Regions from separate parts of the Homo sapiens genome. Here all the other regions are linked to region 3. Evidence: promoter capture Hi-C in human tissues and cell types (Jung and others, 2019). All regions are on one chromosome and are shown on one strand. The core of a region is centred on a gene start or on the middle of the fragment in contact, and the rest is flanking DNA. Distances in the headings are between cores, read along the strand shown. Region 1 overlaps C15orf61 (chromosome 15 open reading frame 61). Region 2 overlaps IQCH (IQ motif containing H). Region 3 holds the start of CALML4 (calmodulin like 4).

Region 1 (3,494 bases), core at 206-2,705, 680 kb before region 3:
CAAACAAACAAACAGTAGTGTTAACTTAGTAATTTTAGCTCAAGGCTAATAATCAGGAGCGTCTACAACTAAATTAATGAGTATTCTTCTCCATTTTCTTATTTATGAAAAGAATATAGCATTACTTCATGATTATTTGAGGGTAATGAATTTATGAAGTACTCGAATTAACATTTATACCCGCCTTGTCTATAGTATGAAAACCTCTGGACTCACGTGATTGCCATCATGTGCCACGTTGATGAAATTGAGCTCTTAGATAATCAGAGTCAATGTTGATTAATATTTTTATATTTTATCACATTGTAATTTGTTAACATTGCTGAAGAGTGTTATACGTGATCAGTAACTTGCATGATTAATAAGCATTGATGTTTATACATATTCGTTTGTTTTCTAGGTATTCCAACTTTATTATATGGACTTGGCTCCTGGTTATTTGCCAGAGTCACAGAGACTGTGCATACCAGTTATGGACCCATAACAGTTTATTTTCTCAATAAAGAAGATGAAGGTGCCATGTATTGAAAGTGTGCGTCAAAGAACATAAATATCAGTGGATTTTCTCTGTGTATATGTGCAGTATTTATTTTTGATCCTTTAAAATAAAACTTTTGCAAATACTTTTTTCTTTCTACAGTATCTGCTTCTTTAAGATGAATCATTGCCCTCAAGAGGTGAAGCTTTTTATACATCGTTATATATTACATACTCTGTTTAGCTGATGTGAACTACAAACACATGAAGCTTCACACCATTTTTTCCCTAGAACTAGGTTAACCTACAGATAAAAAATGATTACAATGTAATAGATTCTATAGTTAATTAACAATTTAAATCAACTCTGAAGAGAAAATATAGATGCCCACACAAAAGAGAAGGGGGGAAAATCTTTTATGTAACAATGGAAAAAGAAGTAGAAGACATTAGGATGTATGATGGAAATATTACATCATTGGCAAATCCAAAATTGATGAGAATCTAATTGTAATCTCAAGTCTAAACCATTCAGCTGCCAGGATTGTAAATAGAAACGTTTTAAAGGCCTTGTGCCATTTACCTGGAGGAGGGGTTGGAGTGTAATGTTGAAACTTCTTGTTGCTTAAAGAGTCCAAAACCATATCGTTTGTAAAATGTAATAATAACTGGTTAATATAAGTGTAGCAAGGTGAATGAAACTCAGACTTATTAAAAGTTAAAACAGCTTTCCTATAAAGCTGTAAGAACAATTAAGATCTTCTAGAAAGATGCAGAAAAATAAATTTGGTAACTGTTTATAAAAGCAATTAACTGAAATGGTACATATCCATAGACTTATTGGCAATAAGGAGTGGGCTGAAATTTTAAAGACCTAATGGCACTTTTGCATTTGAATTTTATTAACTTAATTGCATTTTTGAAAGCCAAGTCATTTAAAAAAATGTATCCTTGGGGTAGTCACAAAATACCCAGATGAATGGTAAATTTCAGACATTTGGAGTAATTTAGGGAGAACTAAGTAGAACTATTTAATTTCTAAACCAATGGGTGTTTAAGATTTATGATCTCTCCCATAATTACAAACATACATTATATATCATTTTATGTTAATGTGTTGCTGATACTCTGCAACACTTACACATTTTTGTAGCAAAACATTTTATAAAATTCAACATTTGGATGCTTATGTCAAGTCAGTAGAGAAAGTGAGTGGAAGTGACTGAGGTGAAGGCACCAGAATAATGAAGTAATACAAACTAGCTTCGTTAAAGGTAGTCATTTTAAATGATCTACAGAGTGAACTGTTCTTCAAATATATGTGGTGTTCACTTGTCTAAAAGCAATTCTAAGTAACACTTTAATCAAAGAAGTACTTATGCCAATATATTTAGTCCAGAAGAATATACTTGACACTAGTTAAATGAATGGCTTACACAAAGGAGATAGTGTTACATTAAGCTTCATTAATAATAAAACAACTGGCTATTAGCATTTTGCAGGGAAGGCTAGAACTGATTTCCTCTGTAATGGGCAAAGTTAAATAACTATAGCTCATAAGTTTTAAGTCAAATACTGCTCATTCATTGCTGCTGGTCTTGTCAATAGTGGCTGTAAAGGTTTGGTCCCAACACAAGGCTGATAAAATGGTCTTTAATTACCAGACTATAAATACAGCTTTTCAGTAGAGTTGCACCTCTTTTCACACTGGCCTGTTTGATTTCTGATAATTTGTACTGCTGACTCTGCTTACCTGTTTTTCAATAGCTATAGTCAGTGTGACTTCTTGCCCATATGTGATAGGTAAGTGTCCTTGGAGAACATCTTTGACAAACTACCCTATTGATCTCTGTAATTCTCTGCTGCTTGCAGCATTAAACAGGGCCTTGATTTCTTGTCTGATGTGCTCACTGTATAACAAGTAAATGTAATATTTTCTTGTATTACATGAAAATCAATAGACCTCTTGCTCTTACGGAGTTGATCATGGTGAAGGATGAACTAACTCAACAATGGGTAAAGGCGTGGTTTAAAAATTTAAATATCATTCATTGGATTTATTAAGTCTTGTAAACTTGTAGTCTGAAAACAATACTTCCCATTGAACAGCAATGGTTTAAGTTTTTTCTTTAAAGCTGCATATTACACCAAAGTATTATGGCCTGAAAGGGAGAAAGTATAAATGTGTAAGTCAGGAGACTGAGTCTATTTTTAGTATTGGTGCTGTCTTACTTTTTGACCTCAGGCTAATAACTCTCCTCCTTTGTGTCTTGGTTTTTCCACCTGTAATCTGAGAAGAACGAAACAAGAGACATTTCTACCCGAAAATGTACATCAATTTTACTTTTGTCTCTGCAAAAGCTCTGTTTTTATAATCCACATTCTTCTGCTCCATTATACTTAAAGGACTTCATTAATTAAAAAATTTCAAAAATAAGGTGATGGAGAAAGAAGGAGAGATGCATTGATAGCACATGCCCACTAACCCTGAAGTGGCATGTGGGGAGCTGAAGAGGCCCTTCTCTTCTGCATATCAGTAGTTTTCTTAATTGGTGAAACCACTGATTAGCTTTTCTGTCATATTTCTTTGACAGGATTTTTATCTTTAATCCAACCAAAACTGTTTTAATAAAGGTGTACTTTTAGTACAAAACCTTGCATCTCTTCTATTGTTATTTCTATACAAATGAATTATCACGTATTGGAATAAATTTCTAGGCAAATTCCTAGGCAAAATTCTTAGTTCCTGTGTAAGTTGTGAGCCACTATAAAGATGCAGTAACCTATTTGGGAGCGTGAGAGAGGCTGCTAATACAAAAATCTCTATTTTCTTAGTGTTGATGTCCTAAAATGCCAAATTGTAGAAACAGTTATAGTTTACCACACATTTTGGGGCATTAATATTTTTCTAACGTTGACTTCCGTAAAAATTCAAACTTTTCTTTTTGAGAAGGAGTTTCAGTCTTGTTGTCTAGGCTGGAGTGCAATGGTGCGACCTTGGCTCACTGCAACCTCCA
Region 2 (3,679 bases), core at 990-3,489, 750 kb before region 3:
AACTTGGCACTCTGAAGAAATTGATCTACTAATGCTGGCAATGAAGTGTCATAGAAAGAACTAGCCTGGAAGTCAGGAACTTGGGCTTTGATTCTAGTTCCTCCCCTAAATGTGGGACCTGAGAAGTCATTTCACCCTCAGAGTCCTCACCCATAAAATGAAGAGATGAGAAGGATGGAGGTCATTCTCAGTCAGCCAGGACAGTGCTGGTTAAGACCTCCCTAAGCCCTGAGTATTTTTAGTTTTAGAGATTCCATCCTACATCGTATCAAATGTATTAAAAATCCATTTCATCTATTCCATGAGGATAATCATGGAATATGATTTAGACATAACTGTATTAGTATTGTGTTGTATCTGACCGACATGTTCTATTTGGTTGATATTTTTAAAACATTGTTATTTTGCTGTTTTCTTTTCATATTTGGGAGCCAGGAACTCCCAAATATGGATTTTGGATTTTTTTCAGAATCCAAAAGTTTTGAAGGCCTTTGAAAATCACGGAAGTCTTAGGTACGCCTGGCCCTGAGTGCTAAGTGGTGGGGCACAGATGGTTTGCAGCCTCTTACCCCACCCACTCCAAACACCCCATAGAAGGCAGTGTCCAAGGGGATTGGTACAGAGATGGAAGCTCTAGTTGCTCAAAGATAGCTTCGTGGAGCTGTGATTTAAGTCATGCCCAAAAAGATGAGTAGGATTAACAGAGACAGAGGGGAAGGCCTCTAAGCTGAAAACCAAGAGGCTCAATTGCTGACCGGGGTGACTGCCCTGTACAGCGACAACTGCCGTTCTTCACTTCTCCAAGAGACTGGGCTATCCCAACAGCTGCCACCAGGTGGCAACAAGCCAAGCGGCTGCTCTCCCCTCTGCCTATTGATTTAGGCAGAGGGCCTATTGCATTTTAATGTTATGCAAACAACTCTTACCAAATACCATAATCACATTAGTATTTTACTAATTGAAAATTCTTACAGTGGGGTGTACCAACTCCTTTAAAATTAAGCATGAGGTGTGTTGTTTACCACAATGGAGAGCTCCATGCTGTCTGGAGATTCAGTGATCCAAGTGGGGAAAAAATATGTCATTTAGTAACTGCCTAAGAAAACGTGTTCTGTTTATAATAGCTGGGATTCTGAGGCCTGTATTTAAATAGCATCTGCAAAGAGTTAAATGTGCTCCCTGTCTCTGAGAAGCAGGCAAGAACACAGAAGTCAAGAACCAAGTGAATTCTTACACCTGCTCAAACTCTGCTCCCAACAGTCAGATGGGGAAGAAGTGGTCAGGACCCAAAACAGATTTATGTCTGCCAGGCCTCTGTAGTAATAGTCTCACACACTATCTCATTTAGCCACTGAATCCACACATATCCCTCAGGGATAGATCCCATCAGGCCTATATTAATAGACAAGGAAATAGGCCCAGAGAGGGGAAAGAAGTTGCTTAAGACCACAAGGCCAGCACTCCCAGCGAGGTCCTGTGACTCTGGTCCAGGGCACTCTCTGTCCTGAGAAAGCCATCCACCTCTCCCAAGCCACGGTCCCCTCCAATCCCATTACTCTCAAGCTGTTGTCACTTTTCCCCTACCAAGCTGCCCCTGTCCTTCTCCACCTTACTGCATCTTAGCCTAAACGTGATGAGAAGTGGACTGAGCTGCCTCTGCCTTGTCCCCTGGGGAAGGCCTCAGGTCCTATAGACCTCACTTCTCACCAATCCAGGAGAATCTTGAGCCCCAGGCCCAGAAGTGAGAGCAGAGAAAAAGCTTCTTCCCTCCCAGGAACTGATTCTGTTTTATCCCTAGAGCCTAGCCATGCACATCCTCCTGATTTTACAGCTGCAAAAGGAGAAAAAGTGCCTGAGATTTCAACCCACCCTCTATAACATGCTGTAACAAAGGCATCTCAAACTTAACTGATCTGAAATCTTGATTTTACCCTCCAAGGTATTTCTCTGGCATTCTGCCCCAGTGGGAAATGGTAATGCTATTCTTCCATTTTCTTCAGGGTGGAAGTTTTGGAGACACCTTTGGCTCCTTTTTCTCATACTGCACATCCAATCCATCAATAAGTCCTTTTAGTTCTACTTTTGAAAAATATCTATAATACAACCACTTCTCCCACCTTCCAGTTACCAGTGTGGTCCAGCCACCATCATCTCTCACCTCAATTACTGCAAGTCTTCCTAACTGGACTCCCTGTTTCCATCCTTGCCCCCTCAGGGCCTCTTGTCAATGCAATTAGAGTCACATTAGTTAGCTCACATCACTCCTCCACTCAACACTCTCCAGTGCATTCCCAGCCTCCACAGCTGTAAAAAGGAAATAAGCCCTTGGCTCTGTACCTAGCCAAACCAGTAAAACAGAGGGAACCATGGCCTACCCATGGCTGTATTCTCTACCAACCAGAGGAGCTGGGCAGGTGACCGAGCACTTGGTCTTACTCTAGAAAAAATCAAGTGGTCCAATGCTGGATTTTCTGTCGAACTGGGGCTGTGAATGCTGTGAACATGGGCAGAGAGGTGACTCACACATCCCTTTGGCCAACCAGCTACTGAGCATGATGGGCCGTGTATCACAGTTCACCCTGAAGGCTGGATGCCATTTCTGGCGTGGGTGAATTCTCAGTACTGCATGTCTCAGAGTTGGCTTATTTGGAGTGCCTGTCTTTTTAAAAATTTTCGGCAATATGATAAATATACACAATTCCCTGTTAGCCTCATAGATACATCTGGAGGCAACAGAGGGAGGATTCACCCAGACTACTATCCCCAGTGAGTGATTAGTTAAGGAAAGTGTGGCCCGGAGAGGCAACTTCTTTTGGGTCACAGATATTTGTCTCAGACCCTGATACCAAAAGCTGGGGCCTTTAGTGGGTCATTTATCCTGTCTGAAATCTCTGGTTCTTCTTACAAAAAGAAAAAGAGGAAGAAGACGATAAGAAAACTTAGAGATGAGTCTGCAGAGCATCTTTGGATTCATAAAGCTCTGAAATCCTGATTCTTCAGTGAGTGTTATTTGATCTATAAATTAGTCTCTGAGTCCCATACGTGCCCTGATGCCCATAGGAGAAGGGTGGCAAGAGGCAACACTAAACCCTTTGCTGAGAACTTTATTTGCACAGAATGTAGGGCCTGAGCACATCTGCCCACATCTGCGTGCTCTGCCACCCATTCATCCCGCCTGTCACCAGAAAGAGGCAGAAGCAGCAGGGGTGAGCAGGCAGCCTCCATCTGCTGAGAACACCTCAGGCAAAAAGGGCTCAAGACCAGGCTTCTCTCCCACCCCTCCCCACACAGAAGCATGTTGCTACATTGTCATCTCAAAGCTTGCGGTCCAGATCCTTGGACCAGAACAATCTGGGCAAGCTGACCTTTGCCTGACTCCTGCCCTGTCTGCTGGCTCTCACCTGCCCAAGGCCTCCAGATGCAGCTGTGGTTCACACGGCATCCAGCACAGTAGCAGTCAGGGCAGTGGAGAGCAGGGGCCTCTGTAGCACTTCTGCCCTCTCCACCCCACTGGCCCTGCTCCTTTGCAGGCTACAATGCACTTCTTTACAACCAATCCAATAGAAATAGAATTCAGCCAGGCATAGTAGCTCAGGTCTGCAATCCCAACACTTTTGGAGGCCAAGGCGAGAGTATCATTTGAACGCAGGAGTTTGAGACCAGCCTGGGCAACAAGATC
Region 3 (3,504 bases), core at 635-3,134:
TCCATCTCCACTGATCACAATAGGGCTGTCTTTTTAACTTTTTGTACAGATAGATGTAGGGATTGAAACACTGTTTGATCCTACATTATTTAATAATGGCTGGCTTTAACATCCTGCTTGCAAAATTCCTAAAACTATGGCTCTTGCTAGCTGTAGTGAGCCAGCCCCAGCCCACATGTGGGTGACACCTGGCTATGCCTGGCCCAGCGTCCAGCATGTAACTGACATTATTCCCCTCTGTCCGTGGCTCGCAGCAGCCTGGTAAGGTGGCATATCCTACTTCATAGGTGAGAAAACCGAGGCTCAAGGGTGATTAGGCTTCAGGTCTGCTGCCTCCAAAGCCCCTGTTCTTCCCACTTCGCTAGGCCACCCCATCCAGTCTTTCACACACTCATTAAACACTGGTGGCCACTTTCTTGGTGTCAGATACTGGGATACAAAGACAATTTACCTTCTTCCCTTCTGGGAGCTTTGGCTATCCCAGGAGGGAGGGTCAGTGAGCCTCAAAACCAGGCATGGGTGGGAGGATGCTGAGGCTGAAGGCTGGACTCCAGCCCTCAGTCCACCATTCATTATCACCGTTAGACCTGGACAAGAGGGCACTGCCCCGGGCCCTGTGTTTTAAAAGTCCCTGCTCCTGCCCTGGCCCTCCTCTTGGGATAAAGAGTTCCAGGGTTCTACGTGGAGGTGCCCACCTGGAGCTCACAATTCCTGCCCCTCTGGACCAAGCTCAGAATACCCAGAACTCTGGAACTCCTGCCCAGGTAACCCTAACCCCACTTGGCTGGGCTCTCAGGACCCTACCCTGGATCACAAGGGCCCAAGGTGCCTGTAATTTTATCTCCAGTGGTCAGCGAAGGACTCACTGAGAAGGCGATGTTTCAGCAAAGACCTGGAGGAATGGGATGCCTCGGGGGACTCTCAGGCCCATTGACGTCCACTGTTGGGACAGGTTTCAGGGTCACAACCTCAAGCAGCAGCTGGCTGTGCCTCCTGGGCCTCTCCTGCCAGGTGCAGGGGGGCTGCAGCCATGAGGCTCCCCTGGCTCAGGTCTGGGCCCCCAAGTTCTTTGTAACGCAACTCTTTGCTCTTGGCCTTCTGGAAATAGAACCCTGCACGGTGTGAAACTGAAGCCTGGTCGAGGGCTGGCAGAGTAGGGGACCCAGGGAATAAAGTGCTCACGCCCAAACCAGGCTTGATGCCAGGGCAAAGGGGGCTCAGTGGACCCTCCATTTTACAGATAGGGAGACTGAGGCGCAGAGAGTAGACGCATCCTGCCAGAGAGTGCAGACCTGGCCTCTGTTCTGTCTCAATTACAAAGCCCCTCCTCTTTCCCTGCTGCCAGCCATACCTTTAATGGTCTCTCTCTCCATCCCCAGTCCCCTCAGTCCCCAAATCCAACTGGTCAGGTTCTGGAGGGAAACCTAGTAAGTTCTGTCTTAGCGCCCTGGCTTGTAAGTCACACTGACAAGTATAAAGCCACATGTCTATTTTGGAGGCTTACCCCCAACCCCCACCCCGCCAACAGCAGCCTCCCCGCAGCTCTTGGCCCTGGGTGGGCCCAGCTCTCCCACAGCCACCTTCCTTCCCACCAAGAAAACATGAGCAGAGCAAATTGCCTAATGAGACCCATATTTTGCTGAGTTGCTAATCAAAGAACAAACCCAACCTACCATTAATTTGGTCTTGGGAAAGAAACTTGGCCTGCAGCAGAGAAAGGAAAACAGTCAGGGGAGGGCTCCACCTGAGGTTCACGCCCCCAGCCCTGGCCAGGCCGACACAGACCCTCACACTCACCATTCTGGGGCCTCGGCTGCTACCCGTGGGCTTGCTGCTCCCAGAACCGCGTTCAGTTCCCTTTCCTCCAGCCTCAAGTCTAAAGTCTGCCAAGCTGGGTGGAGGCCCGGGTAATAAATGCTCGGCTGCCATGGAGACTGGGCCCGACGCCACCAGGGTCAGATTCCAGCTTCCTGAGCACAGCTCATGACCCGCCACCTGGGCAGGTTGGATTTTTGAGGAAATGGGGCTGCAGAAGGCTCTCCCTGGGCTCAGAGTCTCTGCCTCCAGAAGCCGAAGCAAAGGGACAAATGCCAGTGTTTCTTCCCGGGAGCCCTGGACTCCAGGAAGGGGTCTTCTCTCTCTCTCCTGGGACTCGGCGGGGATGCCATCAGGCCCCTACTAGAGTTGGACACTTTACACCCCGGGTCGTATTGAAGGCTCCTCACACACCATCTTGTAGGAGGAAGGGAACCCTTCCAAGACGGCCTAACTCAGAGATGGGCACCGGGGCTCGCAGGCTTGGGGCTCGGTATTGCAGGGATACAAGCTTCGGTGCTCTCAGGCTGGGATTCAGTCCTCCCCGTCTGCTGACTTGCTGAGTGACTGGCGAATCATTCTACCTCAGTCTGTGCCTCAGTTTCCTCACCAGCTGAATTACAGGGCAGCTGGCAAAATCAAGTGGCCAGCGCACAGCCGGTTCCCATCCTGTGCCAGTTCAGTTCCCACCTTCTGAGGACTTTAAGGGTGGTGGAGGGGCCTGAGCCGGGTCTCCAGCCCCACCACAGGCTCCTCGGGGGCTTGGAGTGAGGCCTCTTAGTGCCGGTTACCCTGGCCAGGAAGGCTCCCCTTTTCTTCCTTCCCTTCCTCTCTCCACCCTCAGCCCCACCCCTTCCGCAGAAGCTGCTGACGCTCCCAAGTCTTCAGGAGTTCGTGCTGCTCCCCTCCCCCACATAGGAGGAAATGGGGGCAGGGTGTGAGGCCTCCCCAGCTTCTTCCCCTTGAGATCCCATTTCCCTGTTTGGGGCGTGAGGCTTTTGTCCACAGCTGAGTCTATGAGGCTCTACAAGTAGGTGTGGCTGCACAGGTGTGCCCTACACAAAGGCCCCCAGCCCAGGTGCGAGTGGTTGCTGGCCAGGGGCTGCACTGCCAATAGGAAGGGGGGCATTGTGCCACTTTGCACACAGGCGCATAGACGGGAGGCGCTGCCTGTGCCCCACTCTCCCCTCCCCGCTCCTTTCCTGACCGCCTCTGTGTGGAAAGTGTGCTTTTCTCCCAAATCACATCCCCAGAATCGCTTTACACCTGTTTCTAGACCCAGAGAATTTTAGCTGGGGACTCCGACTCCTCCCTGTCAGAGTTTGAGGCTCCCCCTCCCAAACCCCATGGCAGGGATAAGAGGAGGGAAGGCTGCCTCTGTGCAGAGGATGGAGAGAAGGACATCAAGGAAAGTCACTTGGGACTCTGGAAGCCTGAAGGCGGCCAGGCCAACATGCTCCCTCTGAATCCCCTTGCCTGTGGGAAGGGGCTCCAGAAGAGATGAGGTGCCTCCTTGGAGTTAGGCCAGTGTGTGCTGGGGTGCCCCGGCCAACTCCCTCCTTATGTGTGTAGGTGTCTCCGGGGGTGACGCACAGATGGAAAACACCAGCGTGGGGCAATGGCTGCGTGAGGGTTCACGATACAGCAACTCACCATGCTGTAGGGCGCACCGTGTGTGCTACACCTCAG

Evidence for each region. Contacts are between HindIII fragments. The study calls those that stand out against the background at their distance.
Region 1: a fragment that was not itself captured here is called in contact with the fragment with the promoter of CALML4 in region 3 in 2 of the 25 tissues and cell types used here (dorsolateral prefrontal cortex and lymphoblastoid cells).
Region 2: a fragment that was not itself captured here is called in contact with the fragment with the promoter of CALML4 in region 3 in 1 of the 25 tissues and cell types used here (lymphoblastoid cells).

What each region holds. Positions count from the first base shown.
Region 1 is chr15:67,526,018-67,529,511 of GRCh38, forward strand. It overlaps C15orf61 (chromosome 15 open reading frame 61), which reads left to right. Exons shown (of 2, transcript NM_001143936.2): 2 at 401-3,494. The coding sequence ends at 528. Among named protein-coding and RNA genes, the nearest start is that of IQCH-AS1, 5.9 kb to the left of the region's middle. The HindIII fragment of the contact is 3,545 bases long and covers 1-3,228 here.
Region 2 is chr15:67,456,291-67,459,969 of GRCh38, forward strand. The region is part of intron 16 of IQCH (IQ motif containing H); the gene reads left to right. The region is part of intron 3 of IQCH-AS1 (IQCH antisense RNA 1); the gene reads right to left. Among named protein-coding and RNA genes, the nearest start is that of C15orf61, 63 kb to the right of the region's middle. RefSeq lists an enhancer at 661-955. The HindIII fragment of the contact is 5,129 bases long and covers 1-3,679 here.
Region 3 is chr15:68,203,448-68,206,951 of GRCh38, forward strand. It overlaps CALML4 (calmodulin like 4), which reads right to left and starts at 1,885. Exons shown (of 5, transcript NM_033429.3): 1 at 1,798-1,885; 2 at 1,674-1,704. The coding sequence starts at 1,800. RefSeq lists an enhancer at 2,584-2,878. The HindIII fragment of the contact is 22,474 bases long and covers 1-3,504 here.